Linked DNA regions of Homo sapiens: all the other regions are linked to region 1. The links are contacts of gene promoters, found by promoter capture Hi-C in human tissues and cell types (Jung and others, 2019). All regions are on one chromosome and are shown on one strand. Each heading gives the region's core, a stretch centred on a gene start or on the middle of the fragment in contact. The rest is flanking DNA. Distances are from core to core; before and after follow the strand shown.

Region 1 (2,548 bases), core at 1-2,500:
GGCTCCAACAGGGAGCCTCCAGCAAGCAGAACTTACCACCTTACGGCCTCAGCTTCCTCACTGGGAAATGAACGAGCTAAAAGGAGAGCTCGAACATCCAGACACATAGGACAGACATGCTCTACAACTGCTACAAAAGAGAGGGAGCTGGGTCCGCTGTTGCACGGTTTCCAGATCTTTGGGGGTTTGATTTGGAGACTTCACCCTCTTACGGAAGAACCACCAGAGCATGCTATGCACCCCAAGTGTTCAAAAAGAACTGAACCAGGCTGGACACGGTGGCTCAGGCCTGTAATCCCAGCACCTGGGGGCCAAGGTGGGAGGATCACCTGAGGTCAGGAGTTCGAGACCAGCCTGGCCAACATGGTGAAACCCCGTGTCTACTAAAAATATAAAAATTAGCTGGGCGTGGTGGTGGTGCGCCTGTAATCCTAGTACTGGGGAGGCTGAGGCAGGAGAATCGCTTGAACCCGGGGTGGGGCAGAGGTTGCAGTGAGCCGAGATCGCGCCACTGCACTCCAGCCTGGGCAACAGAGTGAGACTGTCTCAGGAAAAAAAAAAACAACAAAAACTGAACTGGGCATTTTCCCGGTTCGTTCCAGAGATGCTGAATTTGGGCATCTCGGCCATCACCCCGACACTTGGTCATCCGGCAGAGAGACATTTGAGAGAGGCCTGAGGCCAGCGGTGCAGTGGAGGGGTGCCCGGGGCGGCGGGGGGCGGAGAGCAGTGCGGGGTCCTGGGGCAGTGGGCGCTGGGTGCGGCAGGGAGGGAAGAGTCCTGGGAAGAAGCGGGGCATCCCGGGGTGCAGGGGAGAGTAAGGGATCCTGGGAGGTGAGGTCCGGGGTGCAGTGGGAGGCCAAAGGAGGCGACGGAGCTCGGAGGTCTCCGGGGGTGGGGAGTTGTCCCCGGGGTGCAGCGGGGGGCGGTCTCAGGCAGACGGGACCCCGGAGGCATTGGAGGATCCAGGCAGGGTGTGGGATCCAGGGGTCCCCAGAGGCCGGCGAGGGAGCCCCGGGCTGGGGCTTCGTACCTCTCACGAGGGTCACGGGTCGGTCCACGATGAGGTCGAACGCTTTCATCATGTAGACGATGGGATTGGGCTGCACCGGCGTGCGGCGCGGGGGCTCAGGGTACACATCCTTGTCCCAGCTGTCCGGCATGGCGGCGGCGGGCGCGGACTCCGCTCCCGGACGCGCTGCCCTGGCCTCTACCTCCGTCCGGGTCCCGCGGCCTAGGTCGCCCGCTACAGAGGACGCCGAGGGCGGCTGCGTCTGCGCGCTGGCGCCGCGATGCACCATGGGACTTGTAGTTCCCCGGCTCCGCCGGGCGCGGCCGGGACCCGCCTCGCCGCAGGGCGCCCCCGCGTGGGGCCTCCGTTCTCGGTCTGTGCCGAGCGCCTACGCGGTGCTGGTCGCTGGTCTGGGCGCCTGGGAAGCAGCCGCGAACCGGACAGATTCCTGCTTACGATGAAAGAAACAGACAAAAGGCAACTGACATAAGGAATAGGAGGGGGTCATTCGGTTCCCACTGCGCGCCAGGCACTGTGCTGAGTGCAGCAGGGAATAAGATAAACTGTGATGGAGAACACAGGCCGTTAGAGCGCACACGACAAAGTGAACAAATAGCACGCGATTCCAAACACCCTACTCCTCCAGGAAGCTTTCCTGGATTGCCTAGTCCCTACAGACTTCTCTGGGCCCCGCTCTCTACAAGGGCCCCTCATGGACTGGCTGGTGCCAGTTAACTTGGGAGCCTGTCTGGGGGAGGGCAGGGAGCAGACCAGGAGGCAGGGCTTGCCCTTAGGCGGCTCATAGGGAGAAGGCACCTACCCTGGGCACAGGGCCCTCTGGCCGGCTTTGATGGTTCCATCCTGGCCCTGGGGCACTCTGGTGCTTCTAGGCAGCTCCACTGAGCAGGGTCCTGCTGGCCACATCTTCAGTCTCCACACCTGGCACGGCCCCTGGCTGCTATCCAGGGGGGACACTGGTCATGTCCTGTCCTGAGGTTGAGGCCAGCGACACAGAACCATCAACCCTACAGACAAACAGTGAGAGGTGACAGCGTGCTGGCAGTCCTCAGAGCCCTCGCTCGCTCTCGGCGCCTCCTCTGCCTGGGCTCCCACTTTGGCGGCACTTGAGGAGCCCCTTTCTGGGCTGGCCAAGGCCAGAGCGGGCTCCCTCAGCTTGCGGGGAGGTGTGGAGGGAGAGGCGCAGGCGGGAACCGGGGCTGCGCGCGGTGCTTTGCGGGCCAGCGCGAATTCCAGGTGGGTGTGGGCTCGGCGGGCCCCGCACTCGGAGAGCCTGGCCGGCCCTGCCGGCCCTGGGCAATGAGGGGCTTAGCACCCGGGCCAGCGGCTGCGGAGGGTGTGCTGGGTCCCCCAGCAGGCCGGCCCACCGGCGCTGCGCTCGATTTCTCTCGCCAGGCCTTAGCTGCCTCCCCGCGGGGCAGGGCTCGGGACCTACAGCCCGCCATGCCTGAGCCTCCCCCACTCCGTGGGCTCCTGTGCGGCCCGAACCTCCCCGACGAGCGCCGCCCCCTGCTCCAG
Region 2 (3,628 bases), core at 778-3,277, 580 kb after region 1:
TTTTTTCCTTGTGTTAATAGTACAGTTTCCTTCAGGTTGTAGGTGTACTGTGACTGGAGCACGGAATAGAAGAAATGAGCGGATTCTGTATTTAAGGGATTTTTAGTGGGATCATTTCAGACCCATCTGATAGGTTCCATTTTCCTTCATCTTACACTTCATAGGAACAGGTTTCAGATTAAGAGAGACCTGCGAGCTCCGTACCCCGCGTTTAGATGGGGCTGGGCAGGCACGCGGACTTGGGAGGGAGGAGGGTCCTGCAGGGCAGGCAGCGGCCCCAGCTCACGCCGCCCCGCCCCGCGAGCGCCCCTGTTGGGTCGACCGTGTTTCACCTGAGTCCGCCCGGAGCAGCTGCAGGTGCAGGTGGGCAGGGCAGGAGGAGCCGGGCAGCGGGGCAGCTCTGGGGCTTTCTGCCTGAAGACCTCTGGCCCCCGCTGCCCGCGCCCACTTGCCCGCCCAGCTCGTAGCCAGGAGCCGCGGGGACCGGGTGCGCCCGAGTCGGGGGGAAGGTTGGGGGAGGGCAGCGCGGGGGGCGTGGCCAGTGCGACGGGGGCGGGGCCGAGTCACGTTGCGGGGCGGGGCCAGCGCGGAGGGGGCGGGGCGCGGGCCGGGTTTGAATCCCCGGCGGCGGCGCGGGGCGGCCGCGGACCGTGAGTCAGCATTGGCGGCGGCCCCAGCGCGTGGCAGCCGTGCGCCGCCAAGGTGCGGGTCTCGTTACTCGGCGGTCAGGAGCGGGCCCTCCCTTAGGTGCGCCCCCCGCCAGGTGCGTCCCCCGCGTCACGGAGCCGGGTGTGACAGCCGCGGGGTGGGCCCGGGCTTCTCAGAGGCCCGGAGCGAGGCGAAGGCGTCGCCTTCTCGGAACCTGCCTCTGCCGGGCGCTCGCCGCTTCCCAGCGCGGGCTCGGGCCGCCTGCGTCCCCTAGCTAGGCGGGGTCGGTGCCCCGAGGGAGGGCAGGGGAGCGGGGCAGGAGAGCGGAGCGGAGCGGGGCAGGAGAGGGCAGGGGAACGGGGCGGGGGAGGGCCGACCCCTGCGTCCTGGCCTGGCCCGCCTGCACTCAGCCCGCGTGGTACGGGAATTTCCCTGGCGTCGGCGGCTCCCCCGCCCTGTCCTGAGTTCCGAGCAGTCTGTAGCTTGTCCTCGCGTGTCCCTGACCCCGGGGGACCGCGGCGCCTTGAATGTGCTGTGTCACGGCAGAGCCGGGCTGTGTCGCGGTGACTCAGCGGGGCCGGTGGTTTCCTAACGCCCGGGGCTGAGGCAGCCTGGCCTGACCCAGCTGTACTCGCTTAGGTGACCAGCCTCACCTAGATTTTGCCTCTGCACAAGGGTCAGCTCTTTCTTTGAGAATGTTTCAGAAGATCTGGGTCTAACCTTGAAACAGTGAGGTGAGGTGGGGGAGAAGCTGCGGGTGAGAAAGTGGGCCAGGACGGTGCAGCAGCCGTCTCCCCCCTTGATTTCTGGGAGTGAGCCCTAGATAGCACCCTAGGGGTGGTGGAGCCTCCAGGACCCTCTCCGGTGCTCTCTTTGGATGAGGGGCACTTGGCTTTGAAGCGGGGCCGGAGTCTCTCGGGGGCACCCACACGCTCCCTGAACGTCCCCTCTCCAGGCAGCTTCCCGGGCTTCAGCACAGGTGACTTGGCTGAGGTAGGTGGTGGCTGACGCCCTCTGAGTTGAGTGCGAGCCGTAGTTTGTCGGGTGAGCATTGAAGGCAGCTTAGCCCCTCCACATGCTGCGCACTCTGCAGCTGGTGGGTGAAGCTTCTGCCGACTTAGCACGGAGCCTGGTGGGATCACCCCACTCCAAGGGGAGAAAAGGCGCCTCCGTTCCTGTCCCCCAACTTCTTTGCGTCTTTGATTTTCATGAGGAGTTTCTGGATCTCTGCCAGGTGTGAGGGGCGGTGAGCTCTGAAGGGGCTGCCATATCCTGATCCTGGGACTTGGGTGCAGAGGGCAGGTCCAGGTTCCCGAGCCTGGCTGACCTGACTATGGGCAAACCGCTTGGCCCTGCCCGTCATCAAGCCCCCGTATGGGAGCATGAGGGGGCTGTGGGCAGGCCTGCGGGTTGGGGGGTCGGTGCCTGTCCTCAGTGAGTCTGTCCAGGGCCCTGACATGGTTCAGGCTGACACCTGCAAGGATGTAGTGGGGGGCATTCCATGCAGGGCTTGGAGGCCGAGCAGCTTTCTGGGGACTGGTGTGGCTGATCTTACTGAATGGAAGGCACAGCCAGGCTGAGCCTGCAGTGGCACAGCAGGTTAGGAGCCCGGCAAAGGACCCATTGGGAAGCGGTGACCGGCACGCGCAAGGGCACAAGCTTCCTCCTTTCTTGCAGGTCAGGATTCAGGATGCAATGAGGCTTTTCTTGGTAGGAAGGTTACTATTGCAATGCATGAAGGCAGGCTGGGCATGGGCCTCAGGGGGTGTGGGTTGAGCGAGCAGCCCATGAGGAAGGGATCCTGCAGTGCCAGCTTCCAGCAGCCCCTGCACACGTGGTGTCTGGGAAGGGCCTGCAGTGGGGCCATGGGAACAAGCAAGGGATCCTTTGCCAGGGAGGAGGAAGGGCTTTGGCCCCTGCTGGACATCTGGGCTCGGGGCTGCAGAGCCACTGTGTTGGGCGGGTCCAGGCCACAGGAGAGGCTGCCAGCCCTCAGGGAGGAGGGTGGGCCTGGGAGGGAAGCTGGTGCCTATGACAAGAGGCAGTTCAGGGCACAGGCGCAGGGCTGGAGGGAAGGGCCCGGGGCAGCGGTGGGCAGAGTGAGTGGTGAGGAGGCCCCAGAAAACAGCTGCAGGGGGAGTGGAGGCAGAGGGGGGGTCTCCTTTCTGAGGGAGGACTCAGGGAGGGAGGGCTGTGCACAGCAGGGGCCAGATCTGTTGATACAGAGTCCTGAGGGGCCTGGGGAGGACGGGCAGGACCAACAGGGGCATCTGCAGGTGGGCCCCCATGTCCTGGGTTGAATTGTGTCCCCTGAAAGTTGCATTTGAGGCTGGGCATGGTGGCTTGCACCTGTAATCCCAGCACTTTGGGAGATGAGGCAAGCAGATCACCTGAGGTGGGGAGTTCATGACCAGCCTGACCAACATAGAGAAAACCTGTCTCTACTAAAAATGCAAAATTAGCTGGGGGTGGTGGAGGGCACCTGTAGTCCCAGCTGCTCAGGAGGCTGAGGCAGGAGAATAGCTTGAACCTGGGAGGCGGAGGTTGCAGTGAGCTGAGATCGCGCCATTGCACTCCAGCCTGGGTGACAGAGCAAGACTCTATCTCGGTTGGGGGGGCTGGGTGTGGCGGGGGAAGATGCACCTGAACCCCAGGCGTCGCACCTAGGTACGTGGCGTTGCAGGGAAACACAGCAGGTCCTCTTATCCCAGGGTTCGCTGTCCACTGCCTCATTTGCTGGTGCGAGGTCTGGGTTCAGGACAGCAGTGTACAGCATTTGCGCAGGTAACTTTTATTACTGTGCGGTGCTGAAATCTATGTTACCAGTTAATCTTGTTAATCTCTTACTGGGCCTGACGTGCAAATGAGGACGTTCGTATAGGAAAAAGCTTGGTATATAGGGGTTCCGTGCTATCCGCAGCATCAGGCGTCCATGGGGGGGTCTTGGAATGTATCCCCCTGCTACAGATCGCAGGGTGCT
Region 3 (3,628 bases), core at 745-3,244, 550 kb before region 1:
CCAAAGACCTGTGTAGGTCTTGACGGAGAGAGAGGAAAGGAGCTGGGTGCAGAAAAAGGGCTTGGTGGACAAACTCAGGGCTTCAAGGGCAAGCAGCAACAGCTAGAATTTAAGTTCCACATGGGCGGGGATCCCATTTTGTTCACTGCTGTCCTACCAGTACCTGGCACATAGTAAGCGCTCAATCAAGATTGTTTGGATGAATGAGTGACAGCCACAAGCTAATACCCCACAGGTGGCCAGGCAAAATGGAATCTCTGAAGGCATTCTGAGGGCAAAGAACAGAGGAGGCTGGGGGGAAGGGCTCGGCAGCCTGTTGGGAGAAGCCTTGAGTCTGTGGAAAGAGCAGGCGGTGCCTAGGGGGAAGGAGAAGTCTAGACCACTTCTTCCACCACAAATGACCCCTTACTTGCACACGACGGGAAGGCCAGGGCTCACTCACGAATGGCAGACAGGCCCAGGCAGAAGGAGGCCCGCAAGAGAACAGAGAGCTCCAAGCCCCCACCCCACAGGTGTTTACAGTCAGCAGAGACTGTTTGGAGTTCAAACCCTCCACATATCTGCACTAGGAGCCTCCCCAGGCCACCAGGCAGGGTGGGGCAGGGCACGGTCATCAAAGCTAAAACCAGACCTAACCACGGAGGCGGAAATCAGACCAGGCCAGGCCAGTCCACGGAGGCTGAGACTGGGCCAGAACTTAACTCGTCGGACCCACATTCCTGGGCCTAGCCCTAGCCCAAGTGCCATTCTCCCAGGGAGACCAATTGTCACTAAATTGGACGCCCAGGACCTGTCAAGGCCCAATTTCAAAAGCAGGGTGCCACCAAGAACCCTAGAAGGCCCCTTCTCCAAGCCCAGGGAAGCCCCTCCCAACTTCAGGCCTCAGGGAGGGAAAGGAAGGTCATTCATTCACCCCTCCATTCATTAGGACCACAACTGGAAGCCTCAGTCCTGAGGGCAACGACTGGATCCCATAAACTCGGACACCCATGCCACCCTCTCACCCACCTCAGAGCACAGACCCTCTGCAAGCTACACAGCCCCGCCAGCGCCGATGCTGCTGTCTCCCCGCTCCCTCCACTTCCACACACTCCCACCCGGGTCTCCGCGGGCTCTCCGAACCAAGCCCTCAGCCCAGCTTTCCCAAACAGCCCACACAGCGACACGGGTATTGGGCAACTGTAACCAGCTCCAACCGGAAGTACCTGCCTGTGGGTGAGACCCACCTGACCCTCGGGGCCGGCCGCCATAAGGGCGAGGGCTGAGGACCTCCCGTGGGGGACATGGGCTCCCCACCAGCCGGAAAGCTCCAGCGACCGGCTGGGCGTTCCTGGGCCGGACCCGCGCCGCCGCCCGCGCACTGGGGCCTTCGAGGTGTGATGTCACCTGCCCGCAGAATCGGCCCCCCTCGCGCCGCCCCCCTCGCGCCCCCACCCCAGCCTCCCTCTCGCCGCTCCCGGGGCTAATATGGCAGCGGCGCCGCCGCCCCACCCCCGCAACCGCACGACCCGGCTGGCAGGGCCGCCGGCCCGGACCCCCGAGACTCACACCCCGGCCAGGCCCGCACGCCCTGCGCCCCGGACCCCCGGCGGCTCCCCGCAGCCCTCGGGGCGCCGACCCCCGCCCGCTGTCACACGAGGCCCGGGCGCCCCCGACAGCTCGGGATTACGTCAGAGTGACGTCACACACCGGACCCCGGCGAGCTGCGGGCATGAGCAACGCGCGCGCCCCCGCCCCCGAGTCCCTCCCGCCGCCGCGCTCACCGCTGAAGACCATGGCGGCCGAGGCGCCCATGACGGCGAAAAACGAAGCATACTCGGGGCCGCTCTTGGACTCGGACATGTCTGCGGGTGGGGAGGGGGCAAGCTCTGCGGGCCGAGGCGGTGGCGGAGGCGGGGGCGAGGACGGGCCGGGCACGAAGGTTTGCGGGCGGGCGGCGGCGAAGGCGATCCGGCCCGTCAGCCGCTGCGCTCTAAATACCAGCACCGCAGAACAAAATGGCGGCCGCGGCCGCGTCACATGACCTGGGCCCCGCCCCTGCGAGCCGTACCACTTCGCACCGTGGGGGAGACGCGTCCCCGGGACGCCCGGCCGGCCCGTTGACCTCCCCCGGGCTGTGCCGCCCGCCCAGCGACCCGGCCCCGGCGCCCGGCCCCGCCCTGCCTCGGCCTCCGCGGGTGTTTCCGGGCGCCGCCGGCCTCTGGATCTCCGCAGCGTTGGACCGGTCTCGCGCCGGGGCGGGGCGGTGTGGTGTGTGCTTCATTAGCATACGGGGCGGGGCCTCGGACGCCCCGCCTCCTCTGCGGCTGCGCGTCGTCTGCAGGTGTTGGGTTCCCGGCGACGCTTTTCTTTGTACCCCTGGCGTGAAGCTGCAGGCCGTGGTTTCGCGGCCTTGCCCCCAAGACGGGGCCTCACCCCTCCGGGCGCTGGTCTTCCAGGATCTCCCTACCAATCCTGGGCGAGCTAAGGGTCCCAGCAGATGTGCGGCGCGCGGGCCTCCTCTGCCACAGCGTCCGGAAAAGCCCCCAGCCCACACCTGTGAAGTCCCAGCCCGTGGCTGCGGTCACCTCCCTCCACCCTGTCCCCAGTCTCCTCCAGACCCAGACCTACTGCCTCTGACCCAGCAGTTGGTGACTTCACCTCTCGCTTCGGAGAAAAAGGACCCCCTCCCCGCACCTGTCTCTGCCTTTGCATCAGGGACCCAAACATTAGTGGGGTGTGTCTCTGCCCCTCAAGATGTAGGCATGACTGGTGGAAGCCCTGTCGGAACTGCGACCTCTGGAGGCCCCCCGGGCTCTGCACGTTCTGGCGTCCTGGTCCTCCCACCTGTCCTTGCAGCCACCCACTCACGCAAAGCCTGCACCTTCAGGGCCATCTTTCTGTCTTTCTGGAGCAGTTGGAGCGGTTCCCGCAGCCGTGAAAGCAGCCCAGCCAGGGCTGGCGCTGCCCTACTGATCCTGTGTGGCAGTCCCTGGCACCCCCTCTGCCTGATCTCCATTCCCCCTTTCAGGGGCCCTGGGCAGCTGCCACCAGGCCTGAGTGTCCTTTGAGCTCTAAGGCCTCATCCTGGGTTAGAGCTCTCCCTGAGTAGCCTGGATGCTGGCTCATCACCTTCTCTATGTAGGCAATGGGGTCATGGCCCCTGGTCTGGCCCTCCTGCTGGACTCAGCCCCACCTTCCCCAGCAGGAGCCTCCCTCAAGCCCCTTCCCCAGGCTAGCCTGGGTCTGCCACTCTTGGAACTTGCAGCCCGTGAAAGTCCCTAAGTCTGTCCTGGTTCAAAGGAGAGGAGGCAACAGATACGGCCAGAGGCCCTTTCTGCTCCTCCCTCTTTCTTGCCCGGCCCTTGTTTCTGAGAAGACGAATCTTCACTCTGTCTCCACCTCCTCACCTGCCCTTCCCTCTCCAGCTCCTTGCCCTTGCCAAGGTCACTGGTGACCGCCATTTCTCTAAGCAGAAGGACATCTGTCAGGCTGTCCAAGTGGACCTCTGTGCTGCGTGGCCTGCCACCCTCTCCACACACTCTCCTCTCTCCTGCGGACTTCCTAAATCTCAGACGCCCTCATTCTTCCTGGAGTCACAAGGCCCTGTAGCCCCAATTTTGCTGCAGGTCCTGGCATACCCAGGGCT

What was found. The method cuts DNA at HindIII sites, captures the fragments that hold promoters and counts their contacts. A contact is called where the count stands out against the background at its distance.
Region 2: a contact is called between a fragment that was not itself captured here and the fragment with the promoter of NDUFB10 in region 1, in 1 of the 25 tissues and cell types used here (lymphoblastoid cells).
Region 3: a contact is called between the fragment with the promoter of ATP6V0C here and the fragment with the promoter of NDUFB10 in region 1, in 1 of the 25 tissues and cell types used here (dorsolateral prefrontal cortex).

What each region holds. Positions count from the first base shown.
Region 1 is chr16:1,958,240-1,960,787 of GRCh38, reverse strand. NDUFB10 (NADH:ubiquinone oxidoreductase subunit B10) reads right to left here and starts at 1,250. Exons shown (of 4, transcript NM_004548.3): 1 at 1,034-1,250. The coding sequence starts at 1,163. RefSeq lists silencers at 621-730, 1,161-1,470 and an enhancer at 2,193-2,548. The HindIII fragment of the contact is 2,906 bases long and covers 1-2,283 here.
Region 2 is chr16:1,376,668-1,380,295 of GRCh38, reverse strand. All of the region lies in intron 10 of UNKL (unk like zinc finger), which reads left to right. Among named protein-coding and RNA genes, the nearest start is that of GNPTG, 27 kb to the right of the region's middle. RefSeq lists silencers at 524-663, 694-773, 814-863, 934-1,003. The HindIII fragment of the contact is 4,164 bases long and covers 1-3,628 here.
Region 3 is chr16:2,512,318-2,515,945 of GRCh38, reverse strand. It overlaps ATP6V0C (ATPase H+ transporting V0 subunit c), which reads right to left and starts at 1,994. Exons shown (of 3, transcript NM_001694.4): 1 at 1,764-1,994. The coding sequence starts at 1,842. RefSeq lists silencers at 1,239-1,378, 1,799-2,278 and an enhancer at 3,184-3,478. The HindIII fragment of the contact is 15,008 bases long and covers 1-3,628 here.